Regions from separate parts of the Homo sapiens genome. Here regions 1, 2, 3, 4, 5 and 6 are each linked to region 7. The links are contacts of gene promoters, found by promoter capture Hi-C in blood cells and fetal thymus (Javierre and others, 2016). All regions are on one chromosome and are shown on one strand. Each heading gives the region's core, a stretch centred on a gene start or on the middle of the fragment in contact. The rest is flanking DNA. Distances are from core to core; before and after follow the strand shown.

What was found. The method cuts DNA at HindIII sites, captures the fragments that hold promoters and counts their contacts. A CHiCAGO score of 5 or more calls a contact.
Region 1: a fragment that was not itself captured here is called in contact with the fragment with the promoter of PCNX2 in region 7 in 4 of 17 cell types (total B cells, M0 macrophages, naive B cells and 1 more); the score reaches 6.8 in total B cells.
Region 2: a contact is called between a fragment that was not itself captured here and the fragment with the promoter of PCNX2 in region 7, in 2 of 17 cell types (naive B cells and total B cells). The highest score is 6.6, in naive B cells.
Region 3: a contact is called between a fragment that was not itself captured here and the fragment with the promoter of PCNX2 in region 7, in 2 of 17 cell types (monocytes and M1 macrophages). The highest score is 6.0, in monocytes.
Region 4: a fragment that was not itself captured here is called in contact with the fragment with the promoter of PCNX2 in region 7 in 1 of 17 cell types (M1 macrophages); the score reaches 5.8 in M1 macrophages.
Region 5: a contact is called between a fragment that was not itself captured here and the fragment with the promoter of PCNX2 in region 7, in 17 of 17 cell types (naive B cells, total B cells, naive CD4 T cells and 14 more). The highest score is 33.4, in naive B cells.
Region 6: a contact is called between a fragment that was not itself captured here and the fragment with the promoter of PCNX2 in region 7, in 4 of 17 cell types (naive CD4 T cells, total B cells, total CD4 T cells and 1 more). The highest score is 7.2, in naive CD4 T cells.

What each region holds. Positions count from the first base shown.
Region 1 is chr1:234,085,326-234,088,025 of GRCh38, forward strand. The region is part of intron 2 of SLC35F3 (solute carrier family 35 member F3); the gene reads left to right. Among named protein-coding and RNA genes, the nearest start is that of SLC35F3, 180 kb to the left of the region's middle. The HindIII fragment of the contact is 732 bases long and covers 950-1,681 here.
Region 2 is chr1:233,814,958-233,817,657 of GRCh38, forward strand. No RefSeq gene overlaps it. Among named protein-coding and RNA genes, the nearest start is that of SLC35F3, 88 kb to the right of the region's middle. The HindIII fragment of the contact is 6,208 bases long and covers 1-2,700 here.
Region 3 is chr1:232,622,559-232,625,258 of GRCh38, forward strand. The region is part of intron 1 of SIPA1L2 (signal induced proliferation associated 1 like 2); the gene reads right to left. Among named protein-coding and RNA genes, the nearest start is that of SIPA1L2, 6.2 kb to the right of the region's middle. The HindIII fragment of the contact is 2,765 bases long and covers 1-2,686 here.
Region 4 is chr1:234,111,728-234,114,427 of GRCh38, forward strand. The region is part of intron 2 of SLC35F3 (solute carrier family 35 member F3); the gene reads left to right. Among named protein-coding and RNA genes, the nearest start is that of SLC35F3-AS1, 160 kb to the right of the region's middle. The HindIII fragment of the contact is 4,205 bases long and covers 1-2,700 here.
Region 5 is chr1:234,066,472-234,069,317 of GRCh38, forward strand. All of the region lies in intron 2 of SLC35F3 (solute carrier family 35 member F3), which reads left to right. Among named protein-coding and RNA genes, the nearest start is that of SLC35F3, 160 kb to the left of the region's middle. The HindIII fragment of the contact is 521 bases long and covers 1,145-1,665 here.
Region 6 is chr1:234,040,399-234,043,098 of GRCh38, forward strand. All of the region lies in intron 2 of SLC35F3 (solute carrier family 35 member F3), which reads left to right. Among named protein-coding and RNA genes, the nearest start is that of SLC35F3, 140 kb to the left of the region's middle. The HindIII fragment of the contact is 4,602 bases long and covers 1-2,700 here.
Region 7 is chr1:233,294,305-233,297,004 of GRCh38, forward strand. PCNX2 (pecanex 2) reads right to left here and starts at 1,421. Exons shown (of 34, transcript NM_014801.4): 1 at 1,022-1,421. The coding sequence starts at 1,174. RefSeq lists an enhancer at 807-856 and a silencer at 1,137-1,516. The HindIII fragment of the contact is 4,266 bases long and covers 1-2,700 here.

The DNA.
Region 1 (2,700 bases), core at 66-2,565, 790 kb after region 7:
CACCTATTGATGATAATTAAAAATCACCCATGCCTGGATCTTTATGATCAACTTGGGCCTTCAAAAATTGGTTTTTGTTTCCTAAGTCCTATTGGGATTTCTGCCCAGCCAGATTTGGAGATAAGTATTCCCCAATCATTGTGCTATGATCCTTATTTCCCTCTGTCTGAATGGATTGGGATGTTATTATTTTGGCTTGCATTTGCACGAATATGGCAATCAATCTTGAGATGTAATTTGTATTGGGCTACCTTGTACCCAGACCTCAGTGTGCCCACCCTTTAGATGTTTGCTTTTATTTGGGGGATATAAAGGTCATAAACCTTGAGCCCTATCAATGACATCACCTACAGTCTCAGATCTTTTCTTCCCCTCCCCATACTTTATAAAACTCAGTGCTTATATTACTAGTAAATTCCATGTCCATGTTAGTGTGATGTCTTGGTCCTGTAAAGAGTTTGTCTGTGTGTGATATGGAACTCAATAAGCCCATTGTGATTCGGACTGCTCTTTGGGAAGTTTCAGTTGCTCTCTAATTCTAAGCAGGGACAATTTCTGGTCCTCAGTTGAGAAATCACCTGGCAATAGTTGATATTAGGCATAACTATTAGGTTGAACTATATACCCTGTCTTGTATGTCAAAAATAGTCAAATATCAGTAATATTGTGTGTTTTCACTAAAGGGAGTGTGATTTCCTTGAGATCAGGATATATCTTGCTCATTTTTGTTCATACCCTTCCATCATACCATCCTAACACAGTGCCTGATAAAATTATTGAAGAAATGAGTGAATGAATGTATGCATTAGTTCCCCATTTGAAGTGCTCATGTCTAACTCAGGACCTGGATGTACCCCTGTATGCTGCATTCATTTCCTTACTATCAGAGGACCATCCTGTATTACACAAGAACTGTGTTTGAAAACAACAAGCTGTCTTGCTTAGTTCAAGCTTAAGGTGCATTCTGAGGAACGGGAGAAATGAGTCAGGGGCTGAATGTTGGGTGAGACTATGAAGGGCTATGAGTGACATTCCTGGGACTTTGGATCTTACTCCATAGCCAACTGGGAGTTATTATTGGGTTTTGAAGCAGAAATCCAACTGTTTTTGCTTTAGTGGAACATGTCTGTATTTTAAAAGAAAACTATATTTATTCATCCTTTGATGGACAGAATGCTAATATCGAAAAGACAGATGTATTTACCTTGAGGAAAGGGATAATTTATGTGCATTCAATCCTACAAAATCCTTCACATAGCACAGTATAAGCCTGATTACACATGATTAATAATTGCACACGGGCTGATTGCTGGGCATTCTTGGCTGGGATGTTGTTGTAGATAATTAAAGATTTATTTGGCTGAAAATACCTACCCTAGCTAGAGAGTGGTTGGCTGTTGTTGCTAGAAAATCTCCTCACATGCATGACAGTTCAGGAGGATGATGATGTTTTAGAAGCATCCACTTGGAGATGCCAGGAAATGGAAAGCCTGTGTGAAGGACATGTAGAGATTTACAGATGCCCCTAGCTGTGTCCACAGAGCAGCAAATTCTGACTTATCGTCCCTGCCTTGACAACATGTGAATAAATTTCTGACAGGCGTTAGCAATTGAATTTCCCCAGGTATAATAAATTGCCTCTCTCTCTGATCATTTCATATTGTATGCTGAGTCTTTTCAAAGCTTTGAGCCTGAGCTATAAACCTGACATGACCTGTTTGAACTTCTAGGAAGGGCAGGTGCTTGGCAAAGATGTGGATAAGAGGAAGTGTCTCTCCTTTTCTGCCTGCCTTTCTGGCCACCAGCAATACCCCCACCACCACTGCTTCCAAGCCTTTGGTGTGTGCCATGCTCATCTAGGGATGGGGAAAGGGATTCCTCTTCTAACAGTGAGTCATATAAAATAAACCATTCTTGCCCACCTTTAGAACCTTCATAAGTCTTTCATGCCACATGTCAGCCCAGCCATCTGTGACAATGATTAAATAGTTGCTGTCACTGGTGGTGTATCTGTTAGGTGTGGTTAAATGTTCAATACCAAGATTCAGAATGTTGGAGCCGGTATTATCCGAAGGTCCACAATCCGAGGTTGCTCCTTCATACTTACAGAGGGGCACAGAACTGCCCAGAGTTAAGTGTTCTGCCTAACGACACCCAATAAGCCAAGAGTTAAATGTCCTGTTCAACATCACCCAACCAAGCTAGTGAACAAGCCAGGCCTGGGACCAAGGAAACTGGACTTTAGCCTAGGATCCTCCCACTGCACTGTGCTTTCTTCATTCCATTCATCAGACAACAGCTTTGGTGAGCCTTTCAAAGCATAAAACAAATTGTATCACTCTTCTGTTAAAAAAAACCCTCCAATGGCTTCTCAACCCACCCAGAAACAAATTCAAGGTCCTTAAATGTGAAGTCCCGGGTGGTCTAACCTCATCCACATCTCCCAGCTCATTTCCCTCTGCCCTCTCTGTTACAGCCATGGGGCTTCCTTGGTGATAGTGGTCACACACACCAGGGTTATCCCTGCCTCAAAACTTTAGCACAACATTCTTCTGCCTGCACTGCACCTGCCTCAGATAGTGACATGGCCCTTCTTTATTCATTGTTCACGGGTCCTTTTCTTGACCCTTTCTAAAACATCCCCTCCACACCTGCCTCCAGCTTAGTCTCCTCATTCTGATATATTCTTCTATATTTACT
Region 2 (2,700 bases), core at 145-2,644, 520 kb after region 7:
ATATTTTTAAGAGACAGGGTCTTGCTCAGAAGTACAGTAGTGCAATCATACATAGCTCACTGTAACCTTGAACTCATGGCCTCAAGTGATCCTCCCTCAGCCTCCCAAAAGTGCTGGGATTAAAGGCACAAGCCACTGTGCCCAGCCCCAAAGGAAAATACACAGTTGGTGGGAATGTAAATTAGTGCAGCTACTGCAGAAAATAGTATTCAGTTTTTCTCGAAAAACTGAAAATAGAACTACCATACAATCTGTCAATTCCACTATGGATATTTATTATCCAAAGAAAAGGAAACCAGTATATCACAGGGATACCTGAACCTCCATGTTTATCGCAGCACTATTAGATATAGCATAGATATGGAATCAACTTAAGTGTCCATCCACAAATGAATGGCTTTTTTAAAAATGTGGCATGTATACACAATGGAATACTATTCAGCCATAAAAAAAGAATAAAATTCTGTCATTTGTAGCAGCATGGATGGAACCAAAGGTCATTATGTTGAGTGAAATAAGCCAGGCACAACAAGAAAAATATTGAATGTTCTCACTCACATGTAAGCTAAAAAATGTTGACGTCATGGAGATTGTAAAATGATAGATACCAGAGGCTGGGAAAGGTAATGTGGGGGCAGGGAAAAAAGAGAGGTTGATTAATGAATGCAAAACTATGGTTGGATAGGAGGAATAAGTCCTAGTGTTTGATAGCACAATAGGGTAATTATAGTTAACAAAAATATATTGTATATTTCAATAGCTAGAAGAGAAGATTTGGAATGTTCCAAATGCAAACAAATAATAAATGTTTAAGCCAATGGATGTCCTAAATACCTTGATTTGATCATTACACATTGTATGCATGTATCGAAATATCACATGTATATACAATTATGATGTATCAAAAATTAGTGAGTTTTAAAAAAAGACTTATAAAGCAAAAAAAGATTAGCCATGGCTTTTTGGGGTTCTTGTTTGACTTCCTGGACTGTTGCTAGACAAAGCAACCTGACTTTCCACAAGTCTGACACAGCCGGCTGGCTTCCTGGGCTGGCTACTGTGTTGGCTTCCTGGGCAGGTTGCTGCAGGCTGTAGGTCAGAGTTCTGTCTTTTAGGCATGGTCTGGCTGTTTTCTGTTTATCTATTCAGTCTCTCATTAGTGTTGCCAGAACCAGGAGGTAGAACCAGGAAAGGCTAAAATTCCTGAAGGCACAGAAGCTCGGACTGGATTATTCATCCATTTACATCATTTCATGTGTCAGCCATCAAAGCGAGGTTGATGCTTGAGTCTTGGGATCAAGCCCTCACTGACTTACCCCACCCCAGACAATTGGTGGTAGGTTAGGAAGGGCAGCTGTTCTCTCTGAGACCCACTCACACTGTGGCTCAAGTAGCTTCTGAGCCACAGCAGTGCTCAACAAGGTAGTGGGAAAACTCCTATCCCTTAGGCTGTAATTGCTCTGTAATTTATTCAGAAGGAGGGCACGGTGTATTCCCAATGACAGGCAGCAGTATTGAAAAGCTATCAGCAGACCATGAGCATGTTGAATGCATTTCCTAATCTCCTTTTCCATCTGCCTGGGTTGACCTGACAGTCTGACTCTCTGAAAATAAGAGAGCATACTGGGGAAGCTGTTTTTCTTCTTAATTTCTTAATTTGATCTGGCCTGCATCATCTCCTTTCTGTGTCAAACTCTGGGATTCCGAGGTTTTAAAAAATAACAGCAAAGATTTGCTTGGTGCTAGAGATTTAGTATCTGATCAGATGGCTAAAGAGCAACTGTGAAGCAATTAATGTAAATATTCATTTAATAAATGACCGAATAAAAAATGAATTGAATAAATGACTGAATTCAGAACTCATCTTAGATTTCACCGCACCTCTGGGAAGTTCGTCACACCTTGCTGGTCAGAGGGGTGGCCTGTTGTCCCCCTGGCTTCTGTACCTTAGTGTTGAAAGACAGCGCTGTTGAATGGCTATGGTGTTCCTACCACTCTCCTCCTTTACTCTGTAAGCTACTTTTTTGGAACAAGTATTCTTATTTTGTTTCTGCATCCCCAGCACTTGTCAGTGAAACTGCACAGAGCAGGAATGAGTCTAGTGTTCATGAAAGGAACATGGAAACAGTACAAGAAAAAACCTTGGCAATTTGGTAATACTGAGGAGAATTTTCCTAGTATCATCACCATTCCTTTCTTCACTGCCTTTAAGGATTAACAACTTTTTTTTTTGTAAAATTTCAGTCTGCAGCACATGAATCATTTATAAAAGGCTACCAAATGATAAAATACTATCTTATCTCTGTGAGGTAGTTGGATCTGAGCAGGAAAGTAGGCTCTGTTGATAGATTCAGGTAAACAGAATTAGTGCCAAATGAAATGTCTATATGAAGAAGTGGTTGCCGGGGTGTGAGGCATTTGGGTGGGCAAGTAAGAGAGAAGGTTTCCAGCTGGGCCATCATGGTGCCATCTGGAGAAAGAGGAACGCAGGAAGTTGGGGAGACCAGGATAAAATCAATCCTGGACATGGTGAGTTGGAGGTACTTATCAGACATCAAAGCGGAGTGCAGAAGAAAGATTGTGCTGGAGTTATTGATTTGGGAGTCAGTAGCACTGAAGAGATTACTGAAGACTCACAGTGAGTTCCTTTGTCCAGGTACAGTGAAAACTAGTAAAGAAGAAAGAGCAGAAAGCCCAAGG
Region 3 (2,700 bases), core at 54-2,553, 670 kb before region 7:
ACAGATGAGACTTTGAAACCTGGGAAAGGTGTGAATCATACTCTCTCATGAAAGGCGGCCACCTAAGGGTGCCCAGGCTCCCAGGAACCACACCCCTCTGAATGGGGCTATAAAGTTCTTGATGTAACAGATGGAACACAGTCCCTCTTCAGAAACTTCCACATTTTTACCAGTTCCATATCAGAGTTCAATCACAGGTCATTTCAAACGACCCAGGAAAGGCATAAATGAGGTATAAACTGTTGTTCAAGATAGATCATGTACAATAGAAATAATGATTAGAACTTGCTCAACAGTATTTAGTTCAACAAAAGCCAAGATAAAGGAAGTTCTTTTACGTTCAACCCACAACTCCCAATCATTTCTTTAACAAATATTTGTTTACTGTGAGCCTATTATGTGGCAAAAACCACCTAAGTGCAGGGAATACAGCAGTAAACCAGAAATGTCCCTGCCTGTTTGCTGCTTATGTTCCATTATTAAAATCGAACAGGAGGATGGGTGGGGGTGGATGGTGCTCGTTTAGCTGGAAGTTACTGGAGATACAAGAGCAGGGCTCCCTGCTGTCTCTCCTCACTCATTCCCAACCCACTAACGGCTGGGAAGCCAGGCATTCCTTGCACTACGGGTGGCTGTGTGCTACAGTTCTGGCCAATCACATACAGACAGAGCTAGGCTGTCAATCTGAACTTTTAACATACCCTGATCCTGGGAATGCTTTCGTCTGAGTGTGATAGTATGATGCTTCTTAAACAGCTGAGTTCAGAACAGGCACAGTGGCTCACGCCTGTAATCCCAGCACTCTGGGAGGCCGAGGCGGGCAGATCACGAGGTCAGGAGATCGAGACCATCCTGGCTAACATGGTGAAACTCCGTCTCTACTAAAAATACAAAAAAAAATTAGCTAGGCATGGTGGCAGGCACCTGTAGTCCCAGCTTCTTGGGAGGCTGAGGCAGGAGAATGGCAGCAACCCAGGAGGCAGAGCTTGCAGTGAGCCAAGATCGCACCACTGCACTCCAGCCTGGGTGACAGTGCGAGACTCTGTCTCAAAAAACAAAACAAAACAAAACAAAAAAACAGCTGAGTTCAATTAGAAACTTTCTAAGGAGAATAGCATCGCCATTACATTAACCTCCTACCCCTCAATAAATGAAACCCCAAACCAAGACCCACAAGCAATTCTGGAAGAAAACAGGCCAAAGTCAGAAATGTCTTCGGGAAAAAGAATAAATACACAGTAAATATAAGGCCCATCAAGAGTGGAGTTTGTCTTCCGCTTGCCTCACAAGACCCTACAGGCTCCCTAGAAATTCCATTTCTCAACTGCTATAAACTCTAACCAGTGATAGTACAACAGTGGTCTCTACACAGGGGCCACACATTTCAAAGATACAAATGCCCTTGAGATGCAGAGAAAATACTTCTACATCTATTTATTTTTAATATTAATCTTCTTAAAATGTACATTTGTTTTATGTCCATAATATCTTAGCACAGTAAAGTATATGTTTATACATACAGATATATTATACATATACACACACACAAACGTGCATGCAGATATGTATACATGTATACGCATACATACATGAACACTTAGACAATTGTGTATAGATGGGATGCACGTTGAAAAAAGTTTGAGAACCTTGAGAACCTGCTAAAAAGAAACCACTGTTTCTTGCATTAGGCCATTTAAACACCTGAAACAGGTAGCATTTGCCCTGTACAAAGAATCAAAACTATAATTCCTAAAATTACTTATTAGAAACTTCAATACGGAGAGGACAGTATCCCAAAGCTATTCCTGAACAATGTGAATACCCACTGTTCAACAAGGAACCAAATGTGTTATCAAAACCACCTCCAGAAGACAGTGAAAGTAGTTATGCTGACTTCACAGGACACTATGTCTTAAGCATTAACCAGAACTTTCTTTTAAAACTCCACACAATAGTTCATCTCAGCAGACATAATCTTTTATTCACCCAGGAGTTCTTACTTTCCACAATAACAATTTTTAACACTGGCTCTTTACCTAGATATTTTTACTTAAGAGTTTGAATAAACTACCAGATAGCTTACTTCGGACTGTTCTGATTTCTTGAGGAACTCAACTAAATGGGGATATTTCTCAGAAGATTAAGCAAATATGTAGAAGTGAAAAATATGGAGTAATCTAATGGGCAGAGTTCAAGACACCCCTTTTGGCTAAATGTTTATTAGTAAAATAGGAAGAGAAGTATATCAACCAATTAAAACAAAACCGGAAGAGACTGTGGTGTTCTTCCCCACTATCTGAAAGCAATTCAACACAAGAGAATACCAAACCAAAAAATAAGCTGAAGAAAGTCCAACAATATTCTGATTTTTCCTAGAAGCACTGCAGTTCCTAAGGCCTCCGGAGGTCACAGATCACAGTGTGACCCTAGTGTCTCAATCCAGTCAGTCATTTAACACATTTTCTTAATCATATGCAGAAGAGAGTGCTCGTTACTAGGGACACACTGAAAATGAACTCATTATTACTCAGCATAACTTGGTCAGTAGAACCAGCAAAGGAGGTTTGACACACTCTTTCAGGATATCCATGTGGAAAGGTGGAGCTATATGGGCTAGTTATAAGATATGAAGAGCATTAGTAGTTAACTATAACCGAGAGTGTGACTCCTTGTAAGCCTCGAGGGAAGCTTCCAGAGACA
Region 4 (2,700 bases), core at 116-2,615, 820 kb after region 7:
GCCAACAGGAAGAGCTTCCCCAGGACAGCGGCCTCAGAGCTCAGGCCTGGAGAAAGCTGAGAATTATGCTAAGGAAAGAAAAGAAGACTTTTTTAAAAATAGGAGAAACAATGAGATGGGGCTTTCAGAACACAGCAAGATGTTTAGGGTGAGGTTGGCCTTGTCCTTCTGTATCCTGTGTAGTCCCCATCAGGATCCTGGGGGAGACAAGCGCCTGAGAATAGCTCATCCTCCGAGTGGAGCAGCCTGAGATAAATGCAGGCCATGCTTTCGGCAGAACCTCAGATCTTTCTCATCCTTGCCATGGCTGTGCTGGTTAATTCAGTGCTTAGACCAGGTGCAGTGGCTCATGCCTGTAAACCCAGCACTTTGGGAGGCAGTGGCAGGAGGATCACTTGAGCCCAGGAGTTCAAGACTAGCCTGGGCAGTGAGACTTCGTCTTTACAAAAAAATAAAAATAAAAAAGAAAATAAAGGAGCCAGGCATGGTGGTGCATGCCTGTGACCCCAGCTGCTCAGGAGGCTGAGGTAGGAGGATTCCTTGAGCCTGGGAGTAGTTCGAGGCTGCAGTGAGCCAGGATCACACCACTGCACTCCAGCATGGGTGATGGAATGAGAACCTGTCACAAACAAAACAAAAAAATCTGTGCTTAGACACATACTTTCCCTATAACAATGCACAGAACACCTTGCTGTCCTTTTCTCTCATGTGACTCATATCAGAGTTTATCTTCTACCCCGTATTTCCAAAAGTAATCCCAAATAGTTATTGTCTTGTATTGTGTTTGGAAATTTTACCCAATCTTTTGTGAAGTTTATAATTCACACTCTTTTTTTTTTTTTTTTTGAGACAGAGTCTCACTCTGTCACCCAGGCTGGAGTGCAGTGCCGCTATCTCGGCTCGCTGCAAGCTCCGCCTCCTGGGTTCACCCCATTCTCCTTCCTCAGCCTCCAGAGTAGCTGGGACTACAGGCGTCCGCCACCATGCCCAGCTAATTTTTTTTTTTTTTTTTTTTTTTTTTTGCATTTTTAGTAGAGACAGGGTTTCACCTGTTAGCCAGGAAGGTCTCGATCTCCTGACCTCATGATCCACCCTCCTCGGCCTCCCAAAGTGCTGGGATTACAGGCGTGAGCCACCGTGCCCGGCCTATAATTCACATTCTTAATGACCGGTTTCAGAAATAACTTTTACTTGAGGCTGGGCATGGTGGCATATGCCTGTAGTCCCAGCTACTCAGGAGGCTGAGGTGAAAAGATCGCTCAAGCCCAGTAGTTTGAGACCAATGAGCCCAGGAGTTCGAGACCAGCCTGGGCAAAAGAGCAAAACCTCATCCCCATTTTAAAAAAAGAAGAAGAAAAAGAAAAGAAAGAAAAGAAATAACTATTAATATATGTGCTGTGCTTAAAGTTTCTGACATAATCAAAGCACTCTTATGAGCCCCTGATAATTTCCACATTTGTCCTCTCCGTCCAACCACAGACTAAATTGCCATAATCATCAAAGTAAGCCCTTGGCCTTAGACCTGGGACATAAAAGAATCAGGATGGAGCCAGGAGAAACCTGGCAGTTGTCTGGAGATCCCTTAAGCATTTGTTTTTTGTTTGCATTCCAGGAAAACTGTTTCATAAAGTAAGCTCTGAACATACTCACTACAGGCTAATACTTATTTTCTCTTGATTTATGAGAAATTTAAAGAAGCTAGAGGAGGAAGAAGCTGCTAAATGTAAATGTAATGTTGGAAGGTATAATTGGGATTTAAGATATTAAATTGTTTAATTATAGGCTGCCCTAAAATGAAGTCTTTCTTGTGTTCATAGACTTTAGTTCATGACCATTAAGATTTCGGTGACATGTAGGCAAGCATGGTGGCTCACGCCTGTAATCCCAGCACTTTGGGAGGATGAGATGGGCAGATCACCTGAGATCAGGAGTTCAAGACCAGCCTGACCAACATGATGAAACCCGTCTCCACTAAAAATACAAAAATTAGCCAGGCATGATGGCATGCGTCTGTAATCCCAGCTACTCGGGAGGCTGAGGCAGGAGAATTGCTTGAACCCGGGAGGTGGAGGTTGCAGCAAGCCGAGATCGTGCCATTGCACTCCAGCCTGGGCAGCAAGAGCAGAACGCCATCTCCAAAATAAAAAAATAAGAAAAGGTTTTGGTGACACGTAAGAGATTTCTCAGCAAAGTGCAAAGACTCGGATACAAGTGTTCTCTTGCCTCCCTTATGCAATGTGTGCTGGTAAGAGTTTAACAATCGGCTCTCCAGGAGGAGACTGGGGCAAGAGGGACCCTGATTTGCAGCATTTGCCAGTTCCGCAGGGTAAGTGCTCCCACTATGGCTGGTTTCAAACTACCAGTGTGACATCACAGACTGTGTTTGGAAGGAGATACACACGATAGTCTTATGAGCCAGTATGAGTTGGCTCCAGCACACCACTGCATGCCATTAATAGATTTCTGCTGTTCTTTGGAAATTTATATCATGGTATTTATTGCTGATGAGAAGATAATGAGTTTTTGCTTAAGTTTGGGAAAGGAAAACAAATTTGAAAAATGTGCACTGAAATTGTTATGAAAAGCTCCTAATTCTTGAGTTTTTGTTGTTATTGCTGTTTTTAAAAGATTGCTTGTTTGGTCCTTCAAATGTGAGTAAAGGAAAGAAGATAAAACTACATTTCCAATATGGCTGATTTG
Region 5 (2,846 bases), core at 155-2,654, 770 kb after region 7:
TGAGTCCAGGTTTCCTCATGGTTTTTAAGCAATCCATGGAGGTAGGAATGGGAGGACGCCAGGAAGGCCATGTGCTTCTTACCTATGGAAATAGGGTTGCCTTCCATTATGCTCCTGGTCTCTTCCTCTTCACTTCCCACTACCTTCTCCTTCCCAAAGATAAAAAGGGTTGCCCCTGCCCTACTTCTCAAATAGAAGTTGGACGAGGGCAAAGAATAGAAGCCAACCTCTCTCTCTGTCTCTCTCTCTCTTTCCCTCCCTCCCTTTCTCTCTCTTTCTCTCCCTCTCTCTCTCTTTCCTTCCCTCTCTCTCTCTCTTTCTCTCCCTTTGTCTCTCTCTGTCTCTGTCCCTCTCTCTCCCACACACACACACACACACACACACACACACACACACACACACACAATTATATTAAAATCTCTGTTATTGCAAGCTGTTTTTGTACCCACTTTCTGCAGTTCATTAGGGAATACATAATTCCATGACTTCATTTGCGTATGAATAAAGCTAGTCACTTAAAGGATCAAACATTTTTACAAATAACTCTTATAATAAATAACTTTCTTAAATGTGTACTGTTCTACTCTGCTTTCTTAGTTCTGATTTGTCAAAGTTTATCACCACAATCATCATTTGTTATATCCCATTTTAATAAGGACATAAGTATATTGCAGAGGCAATTGTGATTTTTTTTTCTACCTACACACTGCAAATGACAACTGATTTGAGGCTTTTTGAGATCTCAACTTAGGGGTTTATATTTGCCTCAATTATTTTCCTATTTCTGAAGATTTCAACGGCTATTGTCGCTACCTTTAGCATACTCGCCTCTAGTAACCAATGTCTATTGACAATTCTAACTTACTATATTAGGATAATATCCCATGGGCTAAAAAGCCAAATAAAAATTTTATTAGAAAATATCAAACACCGGTCCGTGGTCTCTGAGCAAGGGTGTGGTGGATCATTTGCAGCATGACCTCCGCATATCCTCTCCTTATGTCCGCATCCGTGAGTGGTCTTCTTGACTCTGACTCTGGGCTTGATCAGCTGACTTGCTTAGCCTAAGAAGCAACTTTTGAGCCCTGAAATCTGGGGGCCTTACAGCTTCTTTTCTCAGAACCCTGAGACTACCTGGCGAAGAAGCTTGGGTTGTCCTCCTGGAGGATAAGAAATCACGTGGCAAAGAGAGTCCCAGCCAATAGCCAGCACCACCACACATGTGAGTGAGGACATTTGATACCACCTAGCCCGAGCTGAGCCTCCAGATGACTGCAGCTGCATGCATGACCCCTGGCAAAACCAGCAGAACTGCTTGACTGAGTCCAGTCCTGATTGTTCATTCACAGAGTGAGGAGCAAATGAAGGGGTCATGGGTCATGGTGGTGGTGATTTGTTACACAGGAAAGGGTAATTCATGCACAAGGCCTCTGCCATTTACCTTCAAATAAAGTAGCTGGGTTTGGTGAAGACCTCTGAAATATCTGTTTGGCCTCCAGAGGTGGGCTTTACTTATTCCAAAATTCTGGGCTTGGTTTCAGGTAACCGAGAGCCTTCCAACTAAATGCCATTTACTCACATTATGAAAACCTCATGGCTCTCCTAGAGATGTTTAAGCAATTTAAGGATAATGAACCACTTATGAGATTGGAAGGGAGACAGATAAGCTTAAAAGTGTTAGGAGCCTCTGCCAACCGAAACTCCATCAGAAATGAAAATGAAGTGTCTCTAAATGTGTTAAGAAAGTGACTGTAAACGTGGGATTCAATGCGAAAAATTCCACGCACCTCAAACTTTCAGAAATAGTGAATGCACTCTGTCCCTGCCTTTTGGTTTATGGCTTCCTCTTGAAACTCCTGTATTAAGAAAACTTCAACAACTGCTGTCAGCCAGATGCAGTCAAGGGTGCTGTGAAAGGTGCAAAGGTAAGTTAGCCCTGACTCTCATCTGATTCACAGTCTGTAACAGAAGACTCACATGCTAACAGCTACAAGAAGCAGCTCAGCCTCCCAAGTAGCTGGGACTACAGGCGCGTGCCACCATGCCTTAGCTATGAGAGAAGCCATCATAGAACCCATAATTGCTGTCCCTGAAACAGAAGTAGGCACAAATAGGAACTATAATAGAAGTAGGAACAAAGTACAGTAGGAGCAGGAATAGCCAGTAATCTGGGAGTCAGAGAGGTGTGTGTGTGAGCAAGCATGTGTGTGTGCATGTGTGCATGCAGTAAGAGGCAAGAGTGCAGACCACGTAGGCCTTGCAGACCGCTGTAAATGCTTGGCTTTTGTTCCTTGTGAGACAGGAATAAAGAAATGTCCAAGCAGAGGAGTGACAGGATAAGATTTGAGACATTATATATATATATATATATATATATATATATATGGCATATTTATATATATTTTACATATTTTTTATATTTATATATTATATATATTTTTATATGTAATATATTATATATAAAATTATATAATTTTACTACATATAATATATAAAATTATATAATTTTACTACATATAATATATAAAATTATATAATTTTACTATATATAATATATAAAATTATATAATTTTATATATAATATATATTATAATATATATTATATGCAATATATATTATATATTATATTATAATATATTGTATATTTTTGTATATAAAATATATAATATATAATATATTTATAGACAATAATATATAATATAATATATAAAATTTTATATATAAATACATATTTATATATTATATTATATATAATTTTATATAAAAATATATAATATATATATAAAATACATTTTTTTTTTTTTGAGAGGGAGTCTTGCTCTGTCACCCAGGCTGGAGTGCAGTGG
Region 6 (2,700 bases), core at 91-2,590, 750 kb after region 7:
GGGATAGAAGTTCTCGCTTTGGGTCACAGGTTTCAGGCTTTTTGACTTGAAGGCCGGGCTTCACCAGGGACCCGCCCCTGTCTGCCTAGAGTTTCTCTGCCCCCTGCTTCTATCATTCAGAATGTACGATTTAGCAGAAGAAAGTGTGGTAGACCCACACAAGCATCCACACTGACAGAGGAGGCACCTGGCTTTGAGACTTTCCTTTGTGGGTTGGCTGCATCAACTGCTTCCTGTCATGGATGAAACCACAGAGCCTCATGATTATGGTCCTGGCTCTCACCTGGATGACAAGGCTGCATAGGCACTCTGGCCTTTGATGCCTCTTGAGGATGGAGTAGGAGAGAATTACAAAGTGGTTAACAACTAAGAAGACCTAAGGAGGGTCCGGCATCCTAGGGAAAGTTTGGGGACCGACTTTATTCTGGGATATGTCTGAAAAAAGATTCAAAAGAAAACATGTCTGGGCCTGCCACATAGAAGGCACCCAAGTTATTAATTCAACCAGACTCTGCAGCTGCGAACAGATGAGTAATGCTATGGATCATTTGCAGGGTCCTGCAGGAGAGTTGGCTGAACGTAAGACGTGTTATGATATGAATAACCTTTCATGGGTAGAAACACATGTGCTATCTCTGCAGAGGTATATTCGTTTTTAACTTTCTTCTTAGCAGCACAGTAATGTAAAATCTCCTTCTTTGGTAATGATGTCATCAACATCATTACTCTAGGGCTAATCTGCTTCTACAGTTAATTGTGAAACACAGGACAATTAACACTACTACTGTAATAAATACCCTCAAATTCTCAATGGCTTAACACATTAAGTGTTTGTTTCTCACTCCTGTCACTGTGTGACAGTGGTCTGCTGGATCTTTCTCCTCCAAGTGGTGACTCAGGGATCCATGATCATCCTTCTTGTACTACGTCCACCTTCTGTACATAGTCGCTGTGATCTCCAGGAAGGGGGAAAAGGACTACGGAGGGATTTCTTTCCAGACCTGAAATTGATATACATCATTTCCACCTACATCCATTGACCAGAATCCAGTCACATGCACCCAATCTAACTGCAAAGGAAGTTGTGTCCAGGAAGAAAAAAATGAAGTTTGAGAGCATACATGCAGCTATCCATCTAGTGTGTCTGCCTGTATGTATCTATATGCATTCACACTCACACACACCTGTGGCAGACTTAAAAGAAAATAGCATAACCACAGCATGTTTTATAATTGTTCTTGCAAATACTCTTCTAATCACTTGCACATTTTATAACAAAGATTCTGTTTGCAAAGCAGGACTGCATCACAACTTACTTGAAGGTGAATGAGATTATATTCTATTACACCTGTGATTTTTACGGAGGCACAGTTTCCATTATACATGCATAGTACCCAGCATGGTGCAAAAGCATGTAGGTATTCAATAATCATATTGACCAGATCCTTAGATGGGTGGATGATGGGTGGGCAGTTCAAATCAGAAATCATTTTTGTTGTGGTTCTGTGACACACAGGAAGGAGTCCTGGGTGATGCCTTCTGAGCTCATGGCACCATCTTTATGCACGTGCATGTCCCCCTTATGGCATCAGTGGGGCCCATGCATGTAGAAGTAGGCCAGCTGCCCAGTAAATCTCCCTCCTACTGCTAGACAGTAAAGGCAGGTCACTCTTCCCTGACGTCAAGTTGCCCCTCTGGCTTTCTCCTCCGAAGTCAACTTGCCTTGGGGTTCTCTCTCCAGCAAACAGCTGCCACTGACAGAGTCAGAGGAAATGGTACATAATAAGCAGTATAATAAATAGTCCATTGGACCTTCCATGTGGATCATTATCAAGTCATTTGTATCAGAATTAATATTTCATATAGCATAGTTATATGAGAACACTGAAAGAAACAGGGGCATGATTAATACATTCTGATGATATGGTACCAATTTTATATTATTCAGTAAAGTTAATTCTGTCTCTAAAGAAAGGCTCCTACCATTTCAAGTTTAAAAAAGACTATCTATGATCATGGTCTTTAGGATATAAAAGGTTGGCAACTACTGATGTAAAAAGAACCAAAGAATAAAAAGAATCCAAATGACAGCCATAATCAATATCTTCCCCAAGCGGAAACAAATTCTTTTTTCTTTTGTTTTTTTCAACATCAGTTAAAGAGCATGCATCTGTCTTTTTTGATACATTGCTAATTTAAAAAGTAATTTTAGGCTGTGTAAGCAATACAACCACAGAGGATATGGGAATGAAAGAAAGTTCCATAATCACAACATCCTGACACAATTATTTTATCACTTCATTTCCTTCGAGAGTTTATTTCCATCTGTATGTTCTGCATAGTTGCAAGCATGGTGCGTGTAACCTTTTCCTTTTTTTCATTCCTTGTGTTGAAGATCCCGTTTTTATGAAGTGTAGTAGGTGCACCTAGTAACAACTGAAATGGTGTCGAAGAGCCTGCTTTGACGAGCAGCCGTCTTCCGCCTTCGCTCACCCACCTCTAGTCTCACACCCCATTGAAAACTTCTTAACTGTTTTGGTTATCAGTAGTTCTGCTAATTACTTCCGTAAGTCTAAGTAATATGCTTATAACTTTATGTCTTTTTATTATGAACTAAATACATTAAAAGGTACAAATGTATGATGTAACCACCATCTAGTTGTATTAAATGCAAATATTTTGTTGTACGTTGCTTCCGTT
Region 7 (2,700 bases), core at 171-2,670:
AAAATGAGATATGGTAAATAACCTCCCCAAGGTCACAGAACTGGTAACCAGTAGACCCAAAATTTAACCTAGGCATCATGACTTCACACCCAGAGTTCTGACCCTTTGGATACACTGCCGGAAAAAGAGTAAAGAGAAACCCAATCACAAATGTCAAACTCGGAATCCATCAGTCATGCAAACTCATTGACGATTTTTGCTGTAAAAAAAATGATCAAATAATGTGTTAGGAATAAAGTCCTCCAACCGACATACCAAAATTAGATTCTTGGCACGTAAAGTTTAATAAGACATGGAACACCTTACCTGTACAGCTTTTCAAAGCAGGTAAACCATTGTTTTAATTACGTATAATTTACCTAAGAAGGCCATCTATGTAGTTCTTCAGCAAGCACTCACTTACCATAACCCCACTAAAATGTCAAGCCCCATCTAAATGTTGTAATACTTTGTTTAGCATAAAGTACATTAGATTTATCCATTATTATATCTTCCTACAGATTTCTATACATAGTGGTGTAGAAATTACAATGTGAGTAACTGATAACTGAACTGCCTTCTCAAAGCAAAACAAGAAAGAAGGTGAGGGGGGAAAAAGGGGACAATAACTGAAATGAGTCTGCTTTTTACATTTCGTTTTTCCTCTTGGCTACAATCTACAGCATTTCACACCAAACATTATCCCAAGCTACCCAGCTCTAAGGCCTAGAGTTACCCACCTACAAAACAGGCTGCACGCTCCCTGCCACAAGCAGAGTGACTCATCCTAACATCCGGCATCAATTCTTAATGAGTCCCCGAGCCCCCGCAGTCCTGTCTACTTCTTTTCTTTTCCAGTGAATCCTCACAGTCCCCTTTCCCTGCATGTTCTCTGTCCCAAATTTCTGAAGCCCCTCCCTTTCCGTCTCTTAAGAATCTCTACGAACCCGAAAGCCCGTGAGGCTGATGGCACGTCTGTGGTTCCTTTCTCCTTCTTCCCTCCATACCCACAGCTCCCCGGGACCGGACCCTCCCCACTCACCAGGTGCAGGGCCAGGGGCAGCAGCAGGAGGAACAGCCACAGGTAGAGGTGGCAGCTGTTGGTGAACTTGCTCTGCTCCGGGTCGTGGTACCAGCCCCCGGTGAGCGCGGCCCACACGCCCTGCCGGAGCAGCTGCAGCACCTGGGACACCATGCCGGCTGCGCCCCGGGGCTGGTGAGCGCCCCGCTGCACCCTGCGCGCCCCGGCCGGATCTCCAGGCTCCCTCAGGTCTAACACCCGGGCCCGCGGGCCGCGCCCCCGCCGTCGCCGCCGCCGTCGCCCCCGCCGCCTCCTTCCACCCCACGTTTGAAGCTGGAGCTGCTCTTCCGCCCGGACCCGCGAACCGCGGCGCCGGAGCCGGCTGCTGCGGCCGGGCAGGTGAGCGCCATGTCCGAGGGAGGAAGGATTTTCCCATCGTGCTCAGAGGCGGCTGCTCAGAGGTTGCTTCCGAGGCTCCTCCCAACGCCCGCCCAGTCCCTCCTTAGCCTTCGCTGGGGGCCAGAAGGATTTCTGTGAGTGCCTCCAGCCTTTTCTTTCTCTCTTTCTCTTTTTCTCTCTTTCTTTCTCTCTCTCTTTTTCCTTCCTCCTCCCTCCCTCTCTCTCTCTTTCTTCCTTCCTTCCTTCCTTTCTCTCTCTCTCTCTCTTTCTTTCTCGCTCTTTTTTTCTTTCTTTCTTTCTTTTTTTTTTTTGCCTCTCCCCTCTTCCCTTCCCCTTCTCTCTGATCCTCCTGTTAGGGGACGTGCAAGGGTGTTCTCATGCAGAAGGCACAGACCCAGGACACGTTCCTTGTCCTTGTCCTTTTTTGCACCCAAGTATTTACCTCATACAAGGTCCTGTCACACAGCACTCAAAGTAATTTCTTCTCCTGAGCACTTCCTGCACGACTTCATTCTCCTTAATTAAGGGCTGACCCCAGACGTTCTATTAATCTAAGCTCTACCTGGTCCTCTGCCACTGATCTTCTGTCCTCCCTGACTGTTTCTCCTCCACTCCCTGTTGTCCAACTTGGTGGAGAAAGAAGATAACCACCTTCCTGATAAAATTTTAGGAGCTTCAGTTAGCCTTAGTTTTTTATCTCTTTCCTAGAACATAATCCCAGGTATTTAACTGGCTATATAGAACATTAGTCTAAATCTCTCTATGCTGTTTAGACAGGAAGACCCACTGGACAAAAAATTAATAATCTTTAAGCTATTATATATTTTATCATTTACAGTGGATACAGTTTAGATTCTCTTTTGAGAGTGGGTTTTGGAAAGGGAAGAGATAAAAAGGAGCTTGTCTTCCTTTGGGATGAGGAGCAGAAGCCCTGTGTGAGCTAGAGCCTTAGGGAGAGACAAAGATTAGAGGGCTCCATGATTCCCAACACGCCTTCCCTGCATCATCCTTACCTGGTCTGTCCCAACACATCACACTCCTCTGACTTGTGTGCCTGCCTGTGTCCTGGCCATGTTCTGGTCTGCAGCAGCACTTACTTATGGCTGCCCTAGTCAGGCCCAGTAAAGGCACACCAGCCTTCCCAGGCTGAAACGAAGATAAGGACAGGCCCATCATGAGGAGAGGGCCCAGGACATGAAAGGCCACTGAGTTACAGCAAAAGCCTCACTATGGTGTGTCTGCCATCAGCTATAACCACTCTTCCTTCTACTTTACATTCATCAGTAGGAATGAATCATCAA